4 separate regions of the Homo sapiens genome follow, and regions 1, 2 and 3 are each linked to region 4. The links are contacts of gene promoters, found by promoter capture Hi-C in blood cells and fetal thymus (Javierre and others, 2016). All regions are on one chromosome and are shown on one strand. The core of a region is centred on a gene start or on the middle of the fragment in contact, and the rest is flanking DNA. Distances in the headings are between cores, read along the strand shown. Region 1 overlaps TIAM1 (TIAM Rac1 associated GEF 1). Region 2 overlaps TIAM1 (TIAM Rac1 associated GEF 1). Region 3 overlaps TIAM1 (TIAM Rac1 associated GEF 1). Region 4 holds the start of TIAM1-AS1 (TIAM1 antisense RNA 1).

Region 1 (2,825 bases), core at 144-2,643, 370 kb after region 4:
AAATAAGTAAGCCATTATCCTACATTATCCTCCCTTCCCATACAAATAATGTTAAAGGAACTATTTTGGTGGTGTGTAGGGGGGTCCCCAAGACCATCCCTAGGTTTGCTGATTCACTAGGAAGACCCACAGAGCTCAGCCTCTGGTCATACTCACAACTATGATTTTTTTAATAGCAAATTATACTGAAGCGGCTTCGTTGTCTTGGGTAAATACCCACGGTTCGTTGTCTCATGCCAAGGGAATCGAGGATGCGGACACACAAGAAGTGGGTTTAGGAGTAGAGGTTTAACAGGCAAAAAAAAAGAGAAAGGAGAATAGCTCTCTCTCCTGCAGAGAGAGAGGGGTGCCCGAGTGGGTCTTCCGGCCAGCGGCGGAATGCACTGGATTTGTATAGCCAGGCTTGAGGAGGCGGTGTCTGATTTACATAAGGCCCACAGATTGTTTGGACCAGGTGTGAGGTCTACACAGCACGCATGGAAGCTGGCTGCCCTATCCTAATCTTTATTATGCAAATGGAGTCTTTGCCTGGCGGGGGCCATGTTCACTGCTTCTTACTGTACGCATGGCTGACAAAGAGAAGAGAGGATGGAGCCGCCATTTTGAACATGCTTAGTCCCAGCTAGCTTTTCCCGATTCACACTGCCGGCACTCACCGGTGTAAGCTTCCAGCTTGCTTGTCTGTGTGTGCAGCTTGATTTTACAGGCTGCTTTTTGTTACAAAAAAAAATTATTTGGGGGTTGCTTTTCATTAAAAGGAAAATGTTACTGAGGATTTTCTTCTCCTCGCTCTCTGCCTAAATCATTTCATCTTAACTCCTGTATCAACACAAAGCAAAATCAGCAAAGGGAAAAGGCGCATGGAGTGAAGTCTAGGGGAAACCAGGTGTGAGCTTCAGCGGGCCCTGTTTCAGTGGAGTCACGTAGAATGAGGATAACTCCTGCAGCACCAAGTTGTGAGGACACCTGAGAAATGCTCTCTCCTAGGGAAGGTGGTTAGAGAGTCAGTGCCCAGGGCTTTTCTGGGGAGGCTGGTTCCCTAGGCACCCTCTGCCTAGCATGCACCAAAATTCCAGACTCCCAGGAGGAAAGTAGGCGTTCACCATAAATCCCATTGTTTGTACCACAGTTTAGGCACTGTGAGCCACTCAGGGTGTTGGGAACCCTCCCAAAATCCAAGTTCTCAGGATACCAGCCAAGGTTCAAATTTGTAAGCGGGCCTTTCGAAGAATAGCAGTCATGCCTGCTGTGTTAACGCTTTCCTATGCGGTTGTCTACATTCTGGCGGAGTTAAATATATATTCCTTTCCATATGTTTAAGACCAGTCTTCTTTACTTAGCATTACACTGTATGGCTTGAATAGTAACAGAGTTGGTGCCTGAGTAAATTAAGTGAGGAAAATCCATGCTGTGCTGTATCAGTCAGGAGTGGCGAGGTTAGCTGAGGTAACAGACAGCCACCAAAGCCCGGTGGCTCGAAACAGTGACATTTATTTCTCACATTCACCACGCGTCCCTTGTGGGTTGGCTGGGACTCCATACGTTGTCCTCATTCCACACCCAGGTCTGGAGCAGCTGCCACCTGGGACAGTGCTTGTCACTCTGCAGAGGGGGAAGGGGAGATGGGAAAGCAGGTGTTGTCCCACTCCCAATTCATTGGCCAAAGCAAGTCACACAGCCATACCTACCTACGAGGGAGCACTGAAGTGTGATTCTACTGTTTGGTAGAAGGAGAACAAAGTTCCCGGTGGAAAGACATAAAGACTACCTCATATGCTCGCTTAAGATTTCTCTCTGAATCAAGTTATTAAGCTGTCTTTTTTTTTTTTAAGACACAGTTTCCCTCTGTCGCCCAGGCTGAAGTGCAGTGGCGCGATCTCAGCTCACTCCAACCTCTGCCTCCCAGGTTCAAGTGATTCTCCTGCTTCCCAAGTAGCTGGGATTACAGGCGTGTGCCACCATGCCTGGCTAATTTTTGTACTTTTAGAAGAGACGGGTTTCACCGTGTTGGCCAGGGTGGTCTTGAACTCCTGACCTCAACTGATCCACCCACCTCGGCCTCCCAAAGTGCTGGGATTACAGGCATGAGCCACTGTGCCTGGCCCAGGTTATTAAGCTTTTTAGCATTTGAAAATCTTTAAAACTCTTTTCTGAGCACTGGGATATTACATTCCTTCTGCACCTTCCCCTGTAGGCCACCAGTCTTCATCTCGGAATACTCAATAGAGGATTTGGGCCTAATGAAGAGAATCCAGTTTTGAACCCTGGCCACTTGCGTTATAACTTTATGCTGTTTATTTCTTGACCTTAAAACTAAAGACATAATAAAGCCAGGAGAATGTTTCTCATGGCAAGGAATAAATGTTTATGAGCGGCTTATTATGCAGCAAAAAGCCGACCTCAGTAATTAGAGCTGTAATTGGTAGCAGTGAAGTGCCTGGATCCTCCAAAATTAGATGCTCCATAATGATTATTCTTTTTCTCTTCAGTTTACTTAATTTTTGTTGAGTAAGGATAAACTAGCAAAGATCAAGTTCAGAAGGCTGAATTTCAAAGCTCTTGGACTCTGCTTCTAAGATTGAGTGATTCAGGGACTCAGAAATTGGAACTGGGCATGAAACTGCTACCGTTTGTATACATTTTAATACTTTTTGTTAAAGTCACTGAATTACTCACAGAACCCATTTACTTTTACCCCCTGAGGAGGGTATGACAGGGCACCAGGCGTCAGTCTTGAGAGTGTTACAAACAGTGCTTCCCAACTCATCCGATGTAAAGAAGCAGGTATTTTGTTTTGTTTTAATTTCCACTCTTTTGTGACCACT
Region 2 (3,173 bases), core at 475-2,974, 270 kb after region 4:
CCAGCCAATGTTTGTTTTTTGAGCCTGAGTTCTCCACAAGTTGCCTTTCCTGATTTTTTTTTGGTAGGTCCCAGATCGGCCCTGTATTTCCTTGAGCACTGGCCTTCAATATCAGATGAATGTGCAAGATGAATTCATCAGGGCATGAAAGGAAATTTCAAAATTTATGTTTCATCTTTTGCCTTTAGATTTCTGTTGGTTCAAATAAATTATGTGCTATATAAATACATACAGAAAATTGAAATGTGCATAATGTATTTGAACAGTACTTCAAGTATATATACATTAAATAAATCAGCAGTGGTAGGCATACTCTTCGGGGTGGGCATGCTTAGAACTATTTTTTTGAATGGTGATGCCAATAAAACCATTTGCATCATAGTGCCCTGGACAGGAGTATACTCATTGATTCGTAGAGGGCAAGCCTAGTGTCTGTTTCACTTCCCTTGTGTGTGGTCCCATAGATATTACTTGGCAGTGAATGTCAGGCTTTTAAAGCCTGTTGCTGTCATACTAGAAACAGATTTGCTTTGTGATTTTATGTATCGGTTTTCTGCATGGGGACTGATGTATCACTGTTTGAGAAACGTTCCCATGACTCCCCAGGAATTGCCTTTATATTAAAAGAGGCTGATTATCCTCTTATGATTTTTAGGGAGGGGAATATGGGCTCTGTTTGATTTTTGTTTTCTTCTACATAACAAATCTGATTCGCAATGACTTCATATGCTTTTTATTCTCTCCCAATTTGTCATTTGGCTAGGATGAACAGTAATTGTTGTACAGCCAAAATATCTTGCACCGGCTTTTAAATGAGCTTAGGTCACTTTTCTGGGGTCCAGCTCAGTGGTACTTTTGCCTTAATTGAATCACCTATACTGAAAAAAGAATACCCAGTAGAGAAAAATCTCATGGTGGTTACCATTGTGATGCCCGTGGGTTTTGACTTGAGAAAGTTAAAGAAATATGGACTTCTTTCCAGGCGTAGGGAGCACAAAAACTTCCAGACCATCCACCTAACTTTAAAAAGAATGGGTGCTTAGGAGAGTTGGGCCAAGTCACTTGTGTCCCATAGTTAACCCATGTCTTTCTTGCCATCCCTCTGTGCCCATCACCATGTGCTCCACTCTCATCCTTTGCTGGTCTGGTCACTCACATAAACCAGGGCATTGCCTGAGATCTGCATGGTGTTGCAAAGCTATTGACTTCTTATTTTATACACTCACAGAAAAGTTAAATGATTGTTCTTAAATGCTACATGTGTTTAAGTGGCACTTGGGCATGCTTATTTATGCATTGCAGATATATTGCACTGTGATTTGTACAGCTTTGATCATTGCCTGCATTCAGTGATCTTATTTAAATAATAAGAGTGAGTTCAAGATGTGAGTCAACAGCATGGTGGGTTTCCTGCAGCCTGAGAATATTTTGGAGACTGAACCCAAATCTGATTTACTTTTTAACTTTATGATGCCAAGGCTGAGGCATCCTATTTTTATTTTTGCATTAAATTATTGAAGCTGTTAAATCCATTTATTATTACAGGTATTGATTTAGTCCATACAAAGTGTGGTTGAGATAATGTTTGAAACTTCTGGCCTCTCATGGATAATTAGAGGGTTTGGTTTTGTTTTTGTGTGTGTTTTAAGTTCCATAAATCTGCATTGGAATTGGCCATTATTTGTGTCTCCATTCCAATATCCTCCCTGATCTAAGTTTTTTGGGAGTTGCTATGCTCTGAATGTTGGTATAAATTCATATGTTGGAACCTAATACCTGAATGTGATAGTATCATGCGGTGGGGCCTTTAGGACGTGATTAGGTCATGAGTGCTCTGCCCTCATAAATGGGATTCGTGCCCTTATGAAAGAGACTTGAAGGAGCCTGTTTGCCCTTTCTATCAGGAGAGGATGTATCAGGAAGGTGCCATCTGTGAGGAACAGGCCCTCATCAGATGCTGAATCTGCTGGCAACCTGAACTTGGACTTCCCAGCCCCTAGAACTGTGAGCAAGAAATTTCTGTTGTTTATAAATTACTCAGTCTAAGGTATTTTGTTATAGCAGCCCAAACATACTAAGGCAGGAAGGTTGTTTTTTTTGTTTGTTTGTTTTTGTTTTTTAACTGTATTGCTGTTCTAGTGGGTTCCAGTCCTTTGTTTTTGAGGTCCTTTGTGGAATGGACACCAAATTTCCAGTAAGATCACTGTGAGTGAATTGTGGCCCCTCAGGGATAACATTTGAATCTGGTGCTTGATTATACCTCAGAGTGGAAGGTGTTATTGTCACCTTCCATTTCAGTTACCAAGCCAGGAACTTCAGAGAAGTCTATGCCTCCTTGTTCTTCCTCCTTCTTTCCTCAAAGGATGTATGTGGCCACCGAGTCCTGGTGATCCTACCTGTCATTCTCACTACTCCAAGGCACTCACTGTCCCCGTTGGGCCATCCCAACTTATTGATGGCTTGCAATAAGTCTTTCCCTTCTCTTCCAAGCTACCCAGGTGGGAAAACTATGTTTGATCATGTAACTCCCATAATAAAATCTCATCGTGTAATCCCATCAAATACAATCATGTTCAGTTCCTTTGTGTAGCATCCATAGCCCCAGCCCATCTTTTTAGCTTCATCATCTCCAGCTTTTTCCCATGCACTCGCCTCACTGCAACATTGGGCTAATGATACTTTCATTCCTCAGAGTCTTTGCTTATACCCTTCTCTTTTACTGGAAATTTCTGTCCTTCTCTTTGTGTAAACTCTCTCCTATCCCTGTTCATTTCCTCTCATCCTCCTAAGCTAAGCCAAATCCTATTAACCTGTCAGGACCAGGTTCAACCGAGAGCCTCTCCTAGCAGAATTAGTCTATTTCTTCACATCCTTCACTATTAATAATGCCAGACTAGCTGTTACAGCCCTGTCTGAGTGGGTAGATGCCCACTGTCTTCCCAGATTATATGCATCATAAAGAAATGGTCTATTTCCTCATTCCAAACATATAACAGGTGCCCAGTAAAATGTTGGTTGAGTTGAACTGAATGTGTGATCATCAGTAAAATTCTACATAGATACTCTGTCTTACCCAAACAATTCATAAGCAGTTTTTAGATAGCCCTAAGCGTAGCTATTTAGAAGCCTATTTTTATATACTCTTTTTCATAAGATGCTGTCATTTGTAAAAT
Region 3 (2,909 bases), core at 389-2,888, 290 kb after region 4:
ATGTGTATAGTTCTATATCTTTTTTTTTTTTTTTTACAAAAGGCTTAGTAGCCTAATAAATCTATAAAAGCAGCCCCTGAGAAATGACCACCTACCTGATATATATATATGAACCACCCTAACTAATAAGTATTTGTGTATATTGATAAAGTTTCTTAAAATACCTTTTAATTCCTTTACTATGTATAGACAGTCCCCAACTTAGGGTGGTTTGACTTGTGTTTTTTTAACTTTACGGTGGTACACATACAATCATTTTGTTTTTCACTTTCAGCACAGTATTCAGTAAGTTACATGAAATATTCAACACTTATTATAAATAAATATTCAACAAACATTCAATACTTAAAATACGCTTTGTGTCAGATGATTTTGCTCAGCTGTAGGCTAATGTAAGTGTTCTGAGCCATTTAGGGTAAGCTGTGCTGAGCTATGATGTTTGGTAGGTTAGGTGTATTAAATGAATTTTTGACTTAGGATATTTTCACCTTACAATGGGTTTATGAGGACATGACCCCATCATAAATGGAGGAGCATCTGCATTTAATTTGGTGGGATTTAAAGGCCCTTAAGGTGATTACTTATTGAAAAGTTTAACTTATCACTTTAAGAGAGGGATCATGGTGTTGGTAAGAAAAGAAAAATCACACTCATCCTATTGTCTTTGATCCCTGGCCCTGAGCACTCCCCCAGGAACTCCTGATGCTTTGACCCCATACCACTTTCAGATGACACTCTTGCCCATCATGCCACTAAGACTCCTTTGCTCTCACTTTCTCTGGATCGTCCTAGGCCTGAGCAGTTCTACACTTGCCCTCTCAACTCTTAACCTCATTCCTGAACCTCTGCACTGCAGCTCCAAAAGGAAGAGGAAGATAGGAACTGGAGGCAAGAATTCAGTGGAATTAGACAGGTGCAAGCCCTTAATTCTTTCCCCAGGAAGAATTGGGGGTGGGGAGGGGAACACACTGGAGCACAAGCTGAACACCCTCACCCCTAAGTTCATGGATCAGGATGACCTTCAACCCAGTGGTCCAGAGTAAGGGACTGACACAGACCTGCAGGTGGAAGGGACCCAGAGAGCAGAGAGCTGATTGGGAAGTTTCTTCCAGGCATCCTGAGAGAAGAGGCTAGCGTATTTAAGACTGATGTGTGCTGTGTCTCATTAGCATTGTGGTCATGTTCTCACCTATGTTGCATTGTAGTTGTATGAGTTTTCACATCTTAGATTAAAGTGTCTTTGTCATTCATTCATTCCAGTATTTTTTTTTTTCTTTTGGGTTTTTGGTGTTTTTTTTAATGGACCACCTACAACCTTTCAGGCTGGGTTCTAGGCAATGAGGATACAGCAGGAAACAAGACACTTCCAGCCCTCCTGAAGCTTAGGCTCTAGTGGGAAAGGATAGAGAATAAGAAAGACCAGTAAGTGAAATATATGTTGGTTACAATTATGATCAATGTGAAGGCAAAGCAAAAGAAGAGGGGTAAGAAATGTTGAGTGCTGCAGCACTGGTTGTCATTTTAGATGGAGGAGGGGTCAGGAAAGGCCTCCTTGACCAGGGGACATTTGATTGAAGGTCTGAAGGAACTTGGTGGAGTAGGCGGAAAGGCAGAGCGTTCTAGGCAGAGGGACAGGCACAGGCCCTGAGGCAGGCTAAGGAAGCCAGAACTTAGAACAGGGATGTCCAATCTTTTGGCTTCCCTGGGCCACATTGGAAGAAGAAGAATTGTCTTGGGCCACACATAAGATACACTAACACTAACGATAACGGATGAGCCAAAAAAACCAAAATTGCAAAAAAATCTCATAGTGTTTTAAGAAAGTGTATGAATTTGTGTTGGGCTGCATTCAAAGCCATCCATGTGGCCTGTGGGCTATGGGTTGGACAAGCTTGACTTAGAAGATTGGAAAGAAAGAAAAGCACGAGAAGCCAGACTTGAGGTTTGAATATGGAGAGTTGTTCTTAGGCTAAAAGCTTGTCCTCCCTCCCTCCTACCTAGTCCCTAAACATGAGAGCTATGTGGGACCACTAACATTCTATATAAGTAAATCATAGTCTGAAATTAAGAGTTTAATGAATTTAAAACTGGTAGTGTTTCCAAGCTTGAGATCTAGTACCAGTTTTCTGGCATCCACCTTTTCAATGTCAATCCCAATTTTTGCATTTCAGCCTGTCCTCCTTGTCCCAAATATTCTCTCTCCTACCTAGTGACTGTGTGATGATGTTAGTGAGGTGCTGGTCCTTCACTTTTTGCTTTTGTTACTAAAATGCACCGATATTTACTGATGCTTTATCGTGCGTGGAATATTTCTAGTCTTGTGGAAGCCGTAAAAAAAGTAAAAGTTAATTTCTGCTCTGAATTTGCTTTCTTTGGGCTACAGGAACAACAAAACCCACACAAATATAAAATGCAAATCAGGTTTTGTTTGTTGAAGATAAAAATAAAAAGGGTTAAGTAAGATTGAATAGGAAGAAATTAAGATGATGGAAGTAGCTGGCATTTTACATTTGTACATGGAAAGGGTAAAACTTAAAATTCATCGGCCGGGCGTGGTGGCTCACGCCTGTAATCCCAGCACTTTGGGAGGCCTAGGTGGGCAGATCACAAGGTCAGGAGATTGAGACCATCCTGGCTAACATAGTGAAACCCTGTCTCTAATAAAAATACAAAAAATTAGCCAGGCGTGGTGGCGGGCGCCTGTAGTCCCAGCTACTCGGGAGGCTGAGGCAGGAGAATGGCGTGAACCTGGGAGGTGGAGCTTGCAGTGAGCCAAGATCGTGCCACTGCACTCCAGCCGGGGCGACAGAGCAAGACTCCGTCTCAAAAAAAAAAAAAAAAAACAAACAAACTTAAAGTTCACCAACTTTCTGGGGGTTGCCAGTGGGGCAGGGGTTGTCCCTGAAGTG
Region 4 (3,148 bases), core at 462-2,961:
CCATGCTACCCATTCTTCTCAAACTGATGTTTTAGAAGCACTTCAAATCCTTAAAGCTCTTGCCTATAATTATAGCTCCTCTATAATTCATGGATTCCATGTTTTTTCAGTGCCCCAAATGTGCCAAACACTGTGCTAGGACTGGGATCCAGCAGGGAAGATAGATAAGATTCCGGCTTCCATGGAAGGCTGCAGTGCAACAGGCAACTTCAGCCCCGTGTCATACAGGCCTGTGAGGGGAGCACAGGGGGTGGAAGCACTGGAAGTGGAAATGTGGCATCTAACCTTGACAGGGTACAGGAGGCTTCCCGGGGTCTGTAAGAGCAGTAGTTCAGCAATGCCTACTGCATGGATGCCTTGGCGGCCAAGCTGGGATCTGAAGAAGGGTAGGAATTAGTGAAGTGAAGGGAGGGGCTGGGGGTTGACGTGTTCTGGGGAAAGAAAAGAGACCCAGAGTTGGGAGCGCAAAATGAGATTTTTCTGCTTAGAAGGATCATTCTGCAAAGTGGAGAACAGATTTCAGGGGGCAAGGCCTGGGACAGAAGGACGATGGGAGCCCTTTACTGAGGTCCAGGTGAGACAGGATGGGAGGAATGGGTTTGGGAGGTTAACAAAAATGGATGGGAGAGGGTTAAGAAGAAGGAGGAATCAGGGATGACTTTCAATTTTCCGGTTTAGGTTTATCTTCCACAGCGTGGGCAATTCTTTTTGTTTTCAACAAGATCACCCCGGGAGCGCAGACCTTCCCAGCTCCCGGGGCGAACACGTGTGTATGGAATCAAGGTGTAAGGAACATACATCCCAGCCTTTGTTGTAAATGGGGAAGTCTAGAGCTCTTCAGGAGAGGAGGAAGCTCCGGCCTCGTGTAGGGAAAGGTTTCGCTCGAGGCTGTACCGCCAGCGTCTCCGTTTCCGCGTTCTCCACAACCTTGCGAGAGGTAAACTGCAACTGTAGTTTCCGGATTTTACAGAGGAGCCCAGGAGGTCTGCGTGAACCCTGCCCGAGTCACTTACTCTGCCCAGCAGGTAAGCGTAAGGCCCAAACCCCACGCTGTTATTCCAAGTTCGCTTGCTGGGCACGGTAAGTGAACCCTGGGAGTCCTGGACTCTGGTGAAGGCCACCATGCCCTACCTGGAGGCTGCTCAGGGTCTAACATCCTCTAGCATCCACGGGAAGGGATTGCGTTAGGATTTTTTTCTCTCGTAAAAAAGTTCCTGTCTCCCCCTAGAGCCAGGCACACGCCTCCCGCGCCAGACCACTTGTCCCAGGCACAACATTTTTTGACTCTTCGCCTCCCCCGTTTCGATCCCCCTTCCTCTCCGCCTTAGGTGGCAGGAAAATCCTTTACCTCCGACCAATCCCACCGATGCCGAGCCGCGCGCGCGCGCCAACTAGAGCTCCGTCTGTGCACGCCATTGGCCACCTCCACCTATGCGAGATGACAGGCAGCTTCGCGGACCTATCGCCGAGGGAGGCAGAGGCCTCCGGCCCTCCCAAAGCTGCTTTGTTAGGGGCTCCCTGGTCGTCCCCCGGCCCGCCGCGCCTCCGCTGCCTGCGGGCGATCTCCCCGGGCCGCGCTGACGGAGCCTCGCAGGAAGGCATCTCTGGAGCGCGCGCCGCCCGCGCCCCTCCAGCCGCGCGCTCCGAGCCTGGCTGCGGCGCGGATACCCGGCGTGCGCCCATAGTCGCTCTACAGCCCAACTCCGAACGCCCCGCTCCTGCATCCACCGCCTCGGATTGGCTGGCCGGAGGCGGAGCGATTGTCAGGCGGCCCAATCGGAGCTCGGTTTCCCACGGGCTCCCGCGGCCCGGCCCCCGAGGCCGCAGGCGGAGGGGCCCTGACAGCTCCGATTGGCAGACCACGAGCGGGTTCGAGCGCGGCCGGCAGAGCAGCGCCGCCGCCGTCGGGCGCGCAGCTCTGCAGCTCCGCGGACGCCTTGGCGCCCGCAGCCCCAGGGGCACGGCTGCCCCGCATCGTGCCCGGCCCCGTCGCGGAGATCCCGGACGACCGTCGCGGGTGAGTACCGCGGGCCTGGGGTGCGCGGGCGTCCGGCCGGAGCCGCCCCGGGAGACGGCGGCGAGGATGCCCGGAGCCTCGGTGCCCGTGCCGGGCACGTTCTGACCCCCGTCTCCCGCACACTGGGGCTCCCGGCGGGTCCTAGCTCCCCCCGATCGGGCTTTCCACGTATTGTTTTCGTGTTCACACACTTGGGAGGTGGGGAGATGCGGGGAGGAGAGGCAGGAGGAGGCATCCCTCGCGCGAAGGAGGGAGACGAGACCGTGCAGCCCAGGTGCCTTCGCTGGATGGAAATGACAGCGTCCGGACGTCGGCATTCGGTCCTCTCGGCAGCAGGAGGTCAGCGCTGACCTGCGGCGGCCGCGGCACTTTGTATTTTATCGGCTGATTTTTGTCAACTTCGGGGAGGGCGTGCTTGTGCATCCTTGTGTCTATGTTTGCGTCTCGGTCCCTGACTTAGGCACCTCCGGGCCTGGCTTTTCGGCGACGCGTCCTGGGCGCTCACCTTGGCGATCCGTGCCGCCCTCGGGGCCGGGCTCACCGGGCGGAAAGCCCGGGGGCCGGCGCACGGAGCTGGGGACCCGCGACGAACCCCCGGAGGGGGGCATTAAAAGCGGAATCCTGCGGGTGCGCAGACAATGCCTCATCCGGGCGGTCGGGTCCCGGGGACTGTGCCCTGGGTCCCCGCGCCCTATCCCGTCCCCGCCTCGCCCTCTCACCAGCTCTGCCGCTGCGATGCTGCTGCGCCGCGCCCCTCGCCACCCGGCTGGGGACCCGCGTGGGGCCCGCTTTTGTTTACAGACCTCGCCATTGGGCGAGAGCAGCGCGCCGTGCGCCCCCCAGCCCCGGCGGCTGCCGCTTGCCCCCTCGAAACCTGGAGAAGTTGTTGCGCGCTGTCAGGTGACGCCCCCTCCCCCCGGCCGCGGGGCGGGATGCTGCAGGGGAAAGATGCCGTCTCGGCGCCTTCGCGCCCAGCCCCCGCCGCGCACGGCGCCTCTAGGTCCCCTGCACCCGGGGGCGCCCGTGTCCCAGCCTGGGGTCCAGGCTGGCGGCCCTCGGGGCGCCGACTCGGCCACACTCACCCGGTTCCAGTCGTCGCGTCTCCTGGTCTTGCCCCCGGGTCAGCCCTGG

The links. Contacts are between HindIII fragments. The CHiCAGO score rates a contact against its expected background, and 5 or more counts as called.
Region 1: a contact is called between a fragment that was not itself captured here and the fragment with the promoter of TIAM1-AS1 in region 4, in 14 of 17 cell types (naive CD4 T cells, activated CD4 T cells, non-activated CD4 T cells and 11 more). The highest score is 27.2, in naive CD4 T cells.
Region 2: a contact is called between a fragment that was not itself captured here and the fragment with the promoter of TIAM1-AS1 in region 4, in 6 of 17 cell types (activated CD4 T cells, naive CD8 T cells, fetal thymus and 3 more). The highest score is 13.1, in activated CD4 T cells.
Region 3: a fragment that was not itself captured here is called in contact with the fragment with the promoter of TIAM1-AS1 in region 4 in 9 of 17 cell types (activated CD4 T cells, naive CD4 T cells, non-activated CD4 T cells and 6 more); the score reaches 16.9 in activated CD4 T cells.

Annotation. Positions count from the first base shown.
Region 1 is chr21:31,191,615-31,194,439 of GRCh38, reverse strand. All of the region lies in intron 13 of TIAM1 (TIAM Rac1 associated GEF 1), which reads left to right. Among named protein-coding and RNA genes, the nearest start is that of TIAM1, 150 kb to the left of the region's middle. The HindIII fragment of the contact is 1,451 bases long and covers 668-2,118 here.
Region 2 is chr21:31,287,185-31,290,357 of GRCh38, reverse strand. All of the region lies in intron 2 of TIAM1 (TIAM Rac1 associated GEF 1), which reads left to right. Among named protein-coding and RNA genes, the nearest start is that of TIAM1, 55 kb to the left of the region's middle. The HindIII fragment of the contact is 5,407 bases long and covers 1-3,173 here.
Region 3 is chr21:31,269,606-31,272,514 of GRCh38, reverse strand. All of the region lies in intron 3 of TIAM1 (TIAM Rac1 associated GEF 1), which reads left to right. Among named protein-coding and RNA genes, the nearest start is that of TIAM1, 73 kb to the left of the region's middle. The HindIII fragment of the contact is 510 bases long and covers 1,384-1,893 here.
Region 4 is chr21:31,557,796-31,560,943 of GRCh38, reverse strand. TIAM1-AS1 (TIAM1 antisense RNA 1) reads right to left here and starts at 1,711. Exons shown (of 2, transcript NR_171013.1): 1 at 1,349-1,711; 2 at 457-927. It also overlaps a transcript of TIAM1 not described here. RefSeq lists a silencer at 1,363-1,992 and enhancers at 1,272-2,084, 2,898-3,148. The HindIII fragment of the contact is 6,855 bases long and covers 1-3,148 here.